Regions from separate parts of the Homo sapiens genome. Here region 2 is linked to region 1. Evidence: promoter capture Hi-C in 16 types of primary human blood cells and fetal thymus (Javierre and others, 2016). All regions are on one chromosome and are shown on one strand. The core of a region is centred on a gene start or on the middle of the fragment in contact, and the rest is flanking DNA. Distances in the headings are between cores, read along the strand shown. Region 1 holds the start of DLEU7-AS1 (DLEU7 antisense RNA 1). Region 2 overlaps DLEU1 (deleted in lymphocytic leukemia 1).

Region 1 (6,541 bases), core at 1,765-4,264:
TCTTTGAAATTCCACTGGGCTTTAAAGATTTAAGAATCCAGGGATGTATAATATAAATTTTGCCAAACTTTAAAATAAACTAAAAAATTCACAACAGTTGAATTCCTCCCAAGGCCCCTTTAACAACACTTATAGATTGCTGAGATACGGGTATGATGAACAGCTATGGGTATGACAGCTCTGCATGAACCACACACAACAAAACACCTCTGTGTTCTACAGCCCTTGGCACAAGACATTCCCGGTGGCCTTTCCCCTAATGCGGTGATTTCCAAATGCCCGTCTGTGGACCAGGGCCACTTACTGATATAGTCTTCAACTTTCAATAGCTAAATGAGAAGGATTGGGCTTTATCCTTTATTTTGAGGCTTTTATCCTTGCTTTTCTTGCCTTTCCCTTTTGGTATTAAAACATTCATATCTTATAGAAAGCAAAGGTAATAATAGATGGTAGAAACATATTGTTTTGTTTAGATGACCTTTCTTTGTAAAATTAAAAGATGGAAACTCTGTATTGGGTTTAAAACCAATTTTAACTCTCCATGAAATTTAAAGTCTGGAAAACATTTCTGTAAGGCTGGGCCAAATCCCAAACCTGGGGGAAAAATAGCTTCAGGAGTGAATGCCTACAACCACTGAAATTCTTAAGAGAATTTAGCTTTTTAGCTTTTTTTTTTTTTTTTTCCAGAATTTCTTTTCCGGAAAGTATAGAGAATGAGGATGGTAGAGGACTCATCACTATAGTTTCCTCTCTTTCCCCAACATCCACAGACGTATCAATGGTCTGAATGTAATGTCCTCTTAAAATATGAAGCAGAAAATGGGTTAGGTTAAAAAAAAAAAAGTGCTACCCCAAGCATCATGAGAAAGCTGCTTCTGTTGTTGATCTGTTCTTGTCCCTGCTGGCTCAAAGGATCATGTGTGACACTGTGTCACAAACAGAGTCCCTAACGTGTTTACTTTTCCCTGACAAATACTATAAATTTTCTTCTTGTGGTGAATGAACATTGTTTATGCAGCTGTGTTCCTTAAATCAATACTGACTTTCTGTCCCACTGTATCTTTTTTGCAAAGACACTTAAGGAGAACTTTCTCCTGGCATTTGGGGAGAACTTTTCAAGTCAGACCTCCTAATTAGGAACAATCATTGTGCACTGGATCCACCAAAAAGAAAAAAGTGTTTTTGGCCTGGTTAAGTGTTTCCATCTTGGGTTACAGCCTTCATCTAAAGCAGCTTCTCCCTTGGCCTGAATGGGCTTTTCCGTGGAGACAGAAGGTAAGATTGCATGCTGGCTGACCCAACAGAGATCCAGAACAAACTCTCAGGAAATCTCAACCCCTCAGGCAGTTGAATTCTCACTCCTCTGAGACCAGCTGAGGTTATTTTACTTCATTTAACTAGCCAGATGATAGGTTGACTGATGGGGCCATTATGTCCGGCGTCAAGTAATTTTAGAATGAAAATTATGCAATAGGTTAGACCACAGCTCAATTTTTATCACCCCAATTGCATACAACGTCCCTAATGTGATTGCCTTTGGGCTAAGATGGAAAGAAATGTTCAGTCCCAAAGTGGCTATATTTTCTGGAATAGATTGAGTGAAACGTCTCTTTTTTTCAACCAAAACACATGGAAATAAATTTCTTCGGTTTTACTTTCTAAATATCTGGTACAAGGTAAAAACTGCAGTGATTAATATGTCCTATGGGGCTGCCGGTTGGTGAGGAAAGGTTGTCAAACTTTAGATAACTCCACCAAGTTGCTATTATCATTTTTAGGCCTGGGTCAGTCAAGTAGGTAGACAAGCTTCTTGACATGTGGAATTGACTGGGACACTGGTAATTGATCCTATTTAAGAAAATGTCCTCAACGCAATGATTTTGCTTAAGTACCTTCTTATTTTAAATGTACCCCAGGACACCATAGTTGTTTCTCTCTGTGGCTTTTTAATTTCCCTTTTTGTTCCAACTGACCTTTCTAAGTTTTTTTTTTTCCTTCTGAAATAAAGAATTCTAAACTCATGATTTTACAGAAAAGCTCAGTTTGCAAGAATATCAGCAATTTCTTATTTAAATATCTTCTACTATACCCAATTGCTAGAGCATAACTCTTGGCTCCTAAACCCAATTTATAAATCAGTCATCCTTTCCACCCCTACTCACCCCAAATTTGTTCTTCTTCCTGGTGTTGCTGTCTTATTTCTTGGCACCCTCATCTACTCAACAGCAGCAGAAGAAAAGAAGAAACTTCATAGTTGGAGGATCTTCCTTCTATCTATTTATTCATCCATTCACTCAACACATATCTGTGTCAGATACTGCTCCAGGTACTAGAGACAAGCATGTACAGGACAGATATGGAACTCTGTTCTCACAGTGATTATACAGCGATTATATTCAAGTACATTTCTTCTAGAAACACTTGGTACTTCTTGCAGGGACCCCCAACCTCATATAAGTATATATACTTAAATATGTCTAACAGATCTTGATATATTACATATTTAAGTAAATAATGATAGAAAATGAATATTCTTACATGGATGCCCCAATTTCTTTCAGCTGCCTCAGATACTCACTGGATAGTGATAGCCAATGATATGCCAGACTTGATATTGATTGATAATGTTATGGCCCCACCAGGGAAGGTTAGAAGAATGGAAGCTGCTTATTTCAAATTTGAATGAGCAATCAAACATTCCTGTTCTGATTAATGTTTTTTTGCCTTGATGCACATATAAGAACTGGGACTAGCAGAAAGGGTTTAGCTTAGGACTGTGGAGAAATGCTTTTCTTCATTTCTGATAAAGCTCCATTTGCTGTTTGATCCTGTCTTCTTGATCTCCCAAGTTCCTGATAAGTCTACAAAGCTAAAACACTCACAGTTTGATCATTAGTAGTGTAGATCTTCCTCTCATTCAATGGAAGTCTTCTCTTGGAGGTCAGCAGTAAATGTCTCATTGCCGTGACCCACTGGTCAGTCCTTATGCCTCTTCATCTTTGCACATGCTGATCCCTTTCTCAGAAAGAAAGTCCCTTTAGCCAGGCATCATCTCCTTTGAGAAGCTTTCGCTGACCTCAGACTGGAGAACTCTATTATAGCATTTGACACTCCCCACAAAGGGGAGAACAGTAAGTTGCAGTCTGATGAAGTCATATGATGCCCGGGCTGGCTTATGAGTAAAGAGGTGAGAAGGTCTCCTACTGAAACAGATTTTCCCTCTTTCTTCCCCTTACAATAGCCTTTCAAAGTTCTTGAAATGTCCATTAAGGAATTCCTATACTTTACTTTTGATTTCACAATTTCTCAGTCAAAAGCTCAATATCATTGCATAGGATAATACATTACCTTAAAAAAAAAAACACCAAAAAAACCTCAACACTCAAAGATTAAATTTGTGTTTGGAAAAGGCTTTATAGGCAGTGGTACCTGGAAACTGGTGCTTGAGAGAAGCAGGAGGAGGGAGGGGAGATGTCAAATACCATCTTTTAAAAAATTTGTTTGTTTTTGATGACCATCTTTAAGAGATTTTTAAATGCCATGTATGAATTCAAGAAAGAGAATAAAGCAGGATTCTAAGAAATAATAGAAAGCTTCTTAAGGAAGCCGGTATAGTATCATTTTATATCTCTGATATTTCTGCTCATCTACTAAAGCTCATTAAAACCTATTAATGATTAGGAAATACTTATGTTTTATGAAATGTATAAAAAAATTTAAAGATAACAATCTAAACTCTCTTTAAAAATTAATTTTTATATATATCTTAACACCATTTAACACACTTAATTTTAGTACTTCTTTACTAAAGTTTGCGGAGGCAGACTACTCTTAAAAGTAGGAAAAAAAAAGGCAGAGGAGCAGACCGACTTTTTTTTTTTTTTTTTTTTTTGAGAGGGAGTCTAGCTCTGTCACCCAGGCTAGAGTGCAGTGAGTCTAGCTCTGTCACCCAGGCTGGAGTGCAATGGTGCGATCTCTGCTCATTGCAACCTCCACTTCCCAGGCTCAAGCAATTCTCCTGCCTCAGCCTCCCGAGTAGCTGGGATTACAGACTTCTGAAATTCTGAATAGTATAAATACAACTGGAATTACACTTTATTTTTAAATATACATTTCTAGGTAAAAACATAATTAAAGATCAAATAATTTTGGTTAAATTTTAAAATAAGCCCAATATGTAACTAAATAAGTCTTAGCAGAAAAATGTGAGGATAAAGTTGAGATTGCTCCTATTTTTTAATATTTATAGCATTTATTTATTTGTAATTACTTGTGAAGTTTCAAGTATTAAATATTACTCCGAGCTGTCTAATATGAGTCAGAATTTAGGGCAATAGAAAATATAAAACAAATTTTTCCTTACTAATACATGTTTTTTAAAAAGTTGTGTTTATGTTCTTCATTGAGAACTAAATAATCACTAAAAGAATTGCAGAAGTCATAAAATCATTAAATTAAGGAGAGAAAATCTCTATATATTCAGGATAAAGACATTTAGTATGCTAAGATCTCTATCCAATGGTCAAAAAACAACCAACCAAAGATGAAAATAAAAAATAATTTCTTGGAATATTATCTGAGGACTTCCAATTTTAACATGCAGAGCTAAGTGAGTATTTTCTTATTCATATCTCAGAAAAACCAACCAAAACATCAAGGGAATCAAGAAAAACAGTAATGCAAAGCTTATCCTTTGTAAAACTAGGAAACAACAGAGATTTTTAAATGAGAGAGAGAGAAGACTTAGTGGCATAGGACATAGGAAGTACCAGAGTGAAGATGCCTGTGGATTCTGAGCTTCAAGAAAGTCATAAAAGCACAATTCTAAGTGATACATACTGAAATGTAAATGGAGGTTTTTACAATAGAGGGCAGCAAACCACTTCTTATACAACCAAATAGTAAATATTTTAGAATTTCTGGGCCATATGGTCTCTGCCATAACTATCAAATTCTGCCACTGTAGTGCTGAAGCAACCATGTACAATAAACAAATGGGCATATCTATATTCCAATAAAACTTTACTTCCCAAAAAAGAAAGCTAGCCAATGGGCTATAGTTTGCTGATATTTGTTCTCTAGCAATAAGGGTGTGTCAGCTTGACTGAGTGCTTCCCTGGGCCTCAAAGTGGTGAGGTTTCTAGAAAAAGGAAAGGCGATAAAGCTGAATGAGAAGTGGTAGGAAACTGCACAAAGAAGACAGGGCATTGCTGAAAGCATAGCTAGACATGTGGAAGACGGAATTAGAAAAAAATGAGTAAAAAGAATAAATAAAAAAGATATTTAAAAGGGTTATATGATAGATGCAAAATATATAAAAAAATCAAACATATGCATAATTGGTGTTCTTGAAGAAGAAAATCAAAATAATAAAACAATAACTGTTAGGATTATTACACAAAAATTATGAATATAAAGCATTATTAAACAAAATCCAATTACACATTAAAAAACTAACACACCATGAGCAATTATATTTATTCTAGAATGCAAGGATGGTTCAATATTAGGAAATCTATTAATATATTTCTACCACACTAATAGATTAAAAATCATGTTTCTAGATGCTGAGAGACATTTGATAAACTCCAACATCCATTCTTACTAAACAAGCAAATAAACAACAAAACAAAACTGTCAATAAATGGCAATAGATACTTCCTTAACCTAGTGCAATATACTAATCTCAATCTAAAAGCTAGTGCTATAATCTATAAGGAAACTCAGAAATATTTATATTAATGTCAGGAACAAGACAAGAATGTCTACTACCACAACTATTCATAGACGTTGATCTAGACATCCTAAGCAATGCAGTTTTACAAGAGAGAAAGAAAATGTATACAAATTAGAAAAGAAAAAGACAAATAATAATTGCTTGTAGATTATAAAAGTAAAAATTTTATTATATAAAAAGTGAGCCAACTGAAAAAAAATATTAGAACAATAGTGGAATTCAGTTAGGTCTTTGGTTATAAAGTAAATATATACAATCATCATCCTTCCTATATTAAAATAAAAAAGGCATAATAGAAGAAAATACTTCATTTTTGATAGCAATATCACTAGAAAATATTTAGAATAAATTTGTCAGATGTGAAAACCTATGTAAAATCTTTAACTGGCTGGACGTGGTGGCTCCTACCTGCAATCCCAGCACTTTGAGAGGCCTAGGCTGGCGGATCACCTGAGGTCAGGAGTTCGAGACCAGCCTGACCAACATGGTGAAATCCCATCTCTAATAAAAATTTTTAAAAAATAGCTGGGTGTGGTGGTGCATGCCTGTGGTTGCAGCTACTCAGGAGGCTGAGGCAGGAGAATCACTTGAACCCAGGAGGCAGAGATTGCAGTGAGCTGAGATCATGCCACTGCACTCCACACTCCAGCCTGGGTGACAGAGTGAGACTCTGTCTCAAAAACAAAAACAACAACAACAGAAAAAAAAAAAACCCCATAAAACGAACAACATTACACTGTCTCTTGTGGACACAAAAGAACACTTGAACAGATATAAAAGTATATTATATTCTTGGTGAGGGAA
Region 2 (6,838 bases), core at 1,692-4,191, 570 kb after region 1:
CCAGGCTGGTCTTGAATTCCTGGGCTCAAGCAATCCTCCCATCTCAGCCTCCCAAAGTGTGGGGATTACAGGCATGAGCCACTGCGCCAAGCTGTATGACCTTTTTAAATGCCCATGTTAATACAAATGCTCTCCAGGGTGTCCATGCTTCCCGTCCTGAGTGCACAAAGATCCTGACTGTGGAGTTCTCTTTCCATAGAGCCTAATTTAGTGCTATTAATGTGGGTTTCCTTAAGCTCCTTATCAGGTCATGCATACCCAAAGGGCAGGGGGCCAGGAGGAAAGTAATGACCAGCAACCCTGGGTGCCTGGACGGTACTCCCTACACAGCACAGTCCTAGCCAGAGCTGTTACATGACAAGCCAAAAGCAGCTCACAGAGGCTGCATCCTGAAGGAGCCTCATTAGGACTGAGGCCAGGTTCCTACACCTGAACGGGGCAAGACAAGAAGGGACAGTCAAGAAGAGAAGCCAGGAGAATCAGAAAGTGAGGTTCAAAGGGAAGACACAAAGGCAGGATTGACAGGGACAATCGAGTCAGAGTTCAGGAATTTGCAGAGAAGTTGGATGTAGATCATGGCCTCTGGCCTGGAGGGAGAGAGGGGAAGAGCAAAACTGCTGACAGGGGTCGGGCACAGTGGCTCATGCCTGTAATCCCAGCATTTTAAGAGGCCCAGGCTGGAGTATCACTTGAGCTCAGGAGTTCAAGACAAGCCTGGTCAACGTGGCAAAACCCCGTCTCTACTAGAAAATATAAAAATTAGCCAGGCATTGTGGCAAGTGCCTGTAATCTCAGCTACTCAGGAGGCTGAGGCAGGAGAATTGCTTGAACCCAGGGGGTGAAGGTTGCAGTAAGCCAAGATTGTGCCTCTGCACTCCAGTCTTGGTGAAAGAGCAAGACTCTGTCTCCAAAAAAAAAAAAAAAAAAAAAAAAAAATAGTGGGCCGGGTGCGGTGGCTCAAGTCTGTAATCCCAGCACTTTGGGAGTCTGAGGCGGGCGGATCTCCTGAGGTCAAGAGCTCAAGACCAGCCTGGCCAACATGGTGAAACCCTGACTCTACTAAAAGTACAAAAATTAGCCAGGCGTGGTGGCACGTGCCTGTAGGCCCAGCTACTCGGGAGGCTGAGGCAGGAGAATCACTTGAACCAAGGAGGCAGAGGTTGCAGTGAGCTCAGATCATGCCATTGCACTCCAACCTGGACAACAAGAGTAAAACTCCATCTCAAAAAAAAGTGCTGACAGGGAGTGGACAATGATGATGATTCCTCTTAGAGGAGGTGAACAAATTCATCTCCAAGATTCCTGGGAGTCCATGATAATAGAGTGATAATAAGAAATAATGATACAGATGAGATGATCAGCTTTGTTTATTAAAAATCTTGCCATTGGAGTCCTTCAAAGATAAACTTGGGGACTATAGTTTTACTACTGTCTAGCATATGATAGTGTTTAGTAATATAAAATGTCTTTTTACTTGCTTGCCCTGTAACAAAAAGGGAAACAAAGATTTTTTAATGTCTGGTTATTTCCAGTGATTACAGTGTCTAGTCTTCTTTGTTATTTTTTTAAGCTTTTGTTATAAAATTTCTCAATCACACACAAATGTAGAGGAGAATAGTCTAGTAGACTCCCATGAACCCATCACCCAGCTTTAATCATTTTCAACATTTTAGTCCAGCTTTTTTAAACCCTTTATTTGACAGATTTTCATATATTTTTATTCAGCAAGTATTGATTGAGCAACTACAGGTCAGGCACTCTTCTAGTGCTGGAGATACATGTATAAAAAAAGAAAATAGCCAAAAAATACCTGCTCTCCAGGCCACAAGGAAGCTAAAGTGCTTACATTCACTGACTCAAACTTTCCTCCAACAGGCTTCTCACTGCTACATCTTCATCCTCTCCTTCTGCCTTCTTTCTAGTTTCTGTCTTGGGTTCATCTGGTTTGGTTTTAGCATATCTGTGTTCTTACCTAAACCACTCCAACTCTTCTTTGTAGAAAAATGTAGCGCTAAATTGATAAACTAAATACTTCACAGGGACCTTTAATGACTGACATGAATCTAAATTTGCCTACTAGAGAACTCTCTATGCATAGAGAAATGTTCCAAATCCTTATTTCTGGCCAAAGACCTGTGTATTATTTTTACTTTCCCAGATAATTACCTTTAACATTATTGGATTTTTCACATACAGTTAGATGATTTTCACACTGATAATTTGGGAATTACATTGCCCCTAAGTTAACCCTTTTCTACCTAAAATTAAATTTTGCTGCTACCCCAAAACATGAGGAAATTGAATGCCCCCAAGGGCTTTGTAGTTCAAGTCATAACACAGTGGTTTAACACCTATAGAACCCCTCTCTGATCTTTTGGGATTATTTTTATCAATAAAGTGAAAAAATGAGGGAGGGAAGAGGGAATACAGGAGAAAGGCATCACACTTTCCTGATATTTCTCAACATAACCAGCAACTACTTTCCATTCCTTTCAATGCAGCCACTAGGCCCTGAAATACAGTGCACAGATGGTGTTAGAAAGGACTCAGGCCTTGTGTGACCTTCCTGGTCAGTGATTCTTCCTGGCCCAAGTCCAAGAAAGACCTCCACCCATGACCGTGAAGTGAAAACTTATCTAACTCAGATACTACAACTCCAACCATCTCCAGGTGAAAGTAGTCCTTTGGACCAAGAGACTACAACCTTTCTCATATGTGATATTTTGTAAGGTGCCAATAATAGGCTCAGCAATGGGGACCCCAGGTCTGAACACAAAACTGTGAAAGAAATTATTGAACTCTGAGAATGTCACCTAATAGAGAGACTGCTGTGCTCAGAGTATGAGACATGGGTCCTAATCCCAACTGTACCACTGATTTGTTGTGTGACAACAGGTGAGTTTATCTGTCCACACTCCAGTTTCCTCACCCGTAGAAAGGGATACCCACCCTGCCAACTTTACCCATATATTATGAAGACAAGTTAGCAGATGACTTAGTGCTTAGAAAAGTTAAAGCACTTGGAAATGAAACACATTAGTATGCAGTCTCCTTCCCCATCCCCTTTCTACATCTCATTTTGTGTTTCTCTTGCTGAACCTCTCCAAGAAACCCTCTTAAGCAATGAAAGCAAAGCCTTCTCTTTGAGCATCAATTCTGTAATCCTCCAACTGTATTTGGAAGGGAAACAAATTCTCCACCATGTTAAAGGCCTGTTTGTCCTCCTCTTCCCCCTAACAAAAAGAAAAATTGCAATAACTATCACTATTAATATATATATATCACTATGTTTGTCACTATTAAGCATATATCAAGTAAGTGACTTGCATTGTCTCATTTGATCTCCACAAAAACCCTCTTTGATAAGTATGAGTAGCCCCATTTTACCAATGAGGAGACTGAAAATGAGTTTAAATAATATGCCCCATTCAAACATCCTAGGGACTTCCAAATCCCAGTGGTGGAAGAAGGAATCCCTTCATGTCAGAATTTCGGGCACTCTAGCAAGCCTGAAATCATGTTAATAGCAAGTTAGAGAACTTTAGTTGGAGGATTGGAAGGCTTGCTTTTCTGCATTATCCTTCAAACCTCCCCTCAGGGAGCACCTATGAAAATAAATCAGTTCCAGAGTTCTCACCCAAACTGCTTTCAGGTTAGACAGCCAAGGATTCCAGAACAAAAGTATCCAGTGCAATTTAAAAAGGGGAGAGGCACACAACAGGGAAGCATGTCAAAGTGTGCACAAACAAGCTCGCCCTCCACCACCAGGCGTATTTACAAGTGACCACGTAAATTGTGATTTAACGGTCCAGCATGTGGTATAAAATGTCAGCAACTTTCACAGAGAGAGAAGTCTGGTTTTTACACCCACACAGCACTGTACACTTGACTTGAGCGCCCCGAAAATTCCCCTAAGCATTTTTATCATTACGTATCACTCGTATCACTACACAGTTTAGTCAGCCAAACCATATCCTTTTCCAGCTTTAGATAAATTGCCTTCTGACAAACTGCACACAGACAAAATATCACGAAGTCCCCAAGTTGTAATCTCTACCCTGTTTTTCTACAGAGATGAGTAAGATTTTCCTATTTAGTTTTTTTAAGTACATAAGCAGCAGATGCATGTAATATACGAATATTGTCATTAGTGTGTTTACTCGCTTTCTTGAAATATATCTGAGTTTTATCACTACCTTCGCCCAGATTATGCCACTTGCCACAAGAAAATTACTGCACAAAGACATATTGGTTTAAAAAAAGAGGTGGTCATTTGCCTTTTCTGAACTCTCATTATAATGGATAAAGCTTTAGCTGTACTTTTGGGGAAAATGAACATCATCAAAAAGTGTAAGCCTTGTCATTTTTACCAAATGTCATTTTTACCGCTTTGTCATTTTTACCAAACTTACAGTCAACATTTAAACAAATCTTTTAATATACTGTAGAGAAGCGAACTTTATAAACCATTACAAAATGTTTAATCAGAATTCATTTTAGCCAATCTAGTAAGAGGTCAGCTCAGTTTTCTGTGCTGTAACAAAGCTACGTCTATTTTTAAGAGAATACAGTAACTAATACTTTATTCATCCAGCTAATATTAAACTTATGTTCAATAGCTATTAAGAAACATACTTAAGACTACGACTGCAGGTAGAAAAACACACACACAGTTTCTAAATACCCTGTACTTATTAGAGTTGCTAATCCAAAAAAAGTATTTGTCATGTAAATGAATATACACAGCTCTTTGTCAAGCTAACGAAACTTGTGATAAGTAACACACACACACAAACACACACACACTGGCAAAGCTAGCAACCACTGGCCAAGTAAACCAACAATAGAGCTAAGAACAGCAATAGAAATATCCCCGGACACCTAGTACCTAATAGTGCCCAGTGAATGGTAGAAACTCTGTGTTTGTTCACAAATACTAATGGGTTTTAACCTAATAGAAATGTCTTCGGGAGAATTGTAAATATGTTGGACATCAGAAGTAGGTCAGAGGCATCAATGTTGAACATTTTTCACATCACAGTTTTATTGTTTTAATTTCCTACTTGAAATTAATATACTACTTTTTGAAATTAGTGTTACGCCAGATGCTGAGTTTATTTTCACATCTTAAGTGTATGAGTTTTACTTTCAGTTTTTACCTAACGAGACACATGTCTTGATCAATATACATTAGTTCACGCAGTTGTCTACAAAGCCAGGTGCTTTCAAAATGATTATATTCTATATTTGTAGAGTACCTTAAGAGTTTTCCATTGCTTTCATGCCCATTATCTCATTTAATGCAAATAACAACCATGTGCATGAGAAGGACAGCATTATTGTCCCTGTTTTACAAGTAGGAAATGAGATCCAGAGAAGTCAAAGTGTCTGGGCCAATGTCACAGAAGTAATGAGTGGCGAAAGTGGGACTGGAATCTAGGCCTTCAGGGTTTTCCTTCAACATGCCACCCATACATAGTGCAACAAAACTACAAACCATAAAATTAATCCCAGAGAAGCTATTTCTACTATACCTCCATTCATTCAACAAGTGTCAGTCTAGCACCTACTATGCCAGATGCTGAACCAGAAAGAAAGATAAAAGCTCAACAACTCTACATGCTTTTTCAGGTGCTTTGTCTCTTTCTTGTTATCGTCATTTCCAGGAGTAGCCTGGACTTTCCTGCTTAAATTGTCCAAAGTAAATGTATTAGTCCATTTTCACACTGCTGATAAAGACATACCTGAAACTGGGAACAAAAAGAGGTTTAATTGGACTTACAGTTCCACATGGCTGGGGAGGCCTCAGAATCATGGCAGAAGGCAAAAGGCAGTTGTTTTTTTTTTTTTTTTTTTGAGACAGAGTCTCACTCTACCGCCCAGGCTGGAGTGTAATGGTGCGATCTCAGCTCACTGCAACTTCTGCCTCCTGGGTTCAAGTAATTCTCCTGCCTCAGCCTCCTGAGTAGCTGGTATTAAAGGCATCTGCCACCACACCCAGCTAATTTTTGTATTTTTAGTAGAGATGGGGTTTCACCATGTTGGTCAGGCTGGTCTCGAACTCCTGATCTCGTGATCCACCTGCCTCAGCCTCCCAAAGTGCTGGGATTACAGGCATGAGCCACCGCGCCTGCAAAAGGCACTTCTTACATGGTGGTAGCAAGAGAAAACTGAGAAAGAAACAAAAGTGGAAACCCCTGATAAATCCATCAGATCCTGTGAGACTTATATACTATCATGAGAATAGCATGGGAAAGACCAGCTCCCATGATTCAATTGCCTCCCCCTGGGTTCCTCCCACAACATGTGGGAATTCTGGGAGATATAATTCAAGTTGAGATTTGGGTGGGGACACAGCCAAACCATATCATTCCACCCCTGGCCCCTCCAAATCTCATGTTCTCACATTTCAAAACCAATCATGCCTTCCCAACAGTCCCCCAAAGTCTTAACTCATTTCAGCATTAACCCAAAAGTCCACAGTCCAAAGTCTCATCTGAGACAAGGCAAGTCCCTTCCACCTATGAGCCTGTAAAATCAAAAGCAAGCTAGTTACTTCCTAGATACAATGGGGGTACAGGTATTGGGTAAATGCAGCCATTCCAAATGGGAGAAATTGGCCAAAACAAAGGGGTTACAGGGCCCATGCAAGTCCTAAATCCAATGGGGCAGTCAATTTTTAAAGCTCCAAAATGATTTCCTTTGACTCCAGGTCTCACATCCAGGTCACACTGTTGCAAGAGATGGGTTCCCATGGTCTTGGGAAGTTCCACCCCTGTGGCTTTGCAGGGTACAGCCTCCCTCCTGGCTGCTTTCACAGGCTGGCGTTGAGTGTCTG

Evidence for each region. Contacts are between HindIII fragments. The CHiCAGO score rates a contact against its expected background, and 5 or more counts as called.
Region 2: a fragment that was not itself captured here is called in contact with the fragment with the promoter of DLEU7-AS1 in region 1 in 4 of 17 cell types (monocytes, M1 macrophages, M0 macrophages and 1 more); the score reaches 5.9 in monocytes.

What each region holds. Positions count from the first base shown.
Region 1 is chr13:50,804,328-50,810,868 of GRCh38, reverse strand. It overlaps DLEU7-AS1 (DLEU7 antisense RNA 1), which reads right to left and starts at 3,014. Exons shown (of 5, transcript NR_046551.1): 1 at 2,883-3,014; 2 at 2,163-2,329. It also overlaps a transcript of DLEU7 not described here. The HindIII fragment of the contact is 1,259 bases long and covers 1,809-3,067 here.
Region 2 is chr13:50,234,180-50,241,017 of GRCh38, reverse strand. All of the region lies in intron 2 of DLEU1 (deleted in lymphocytic leukemia 1), which reads right to left. LOC124900337 (a long non-coding RNA gene) reads right to left here. Exons shown (of 2, transcript XR_007063796.1): 2 at 1,674-6,838. Among named protein-coding and RNA genes, the nearest start is that of DLEU2, 110 kb to the right of the region's middle. The HindIII fragment of the contact is 2,738 bases long and covers 1,573-4,310 here.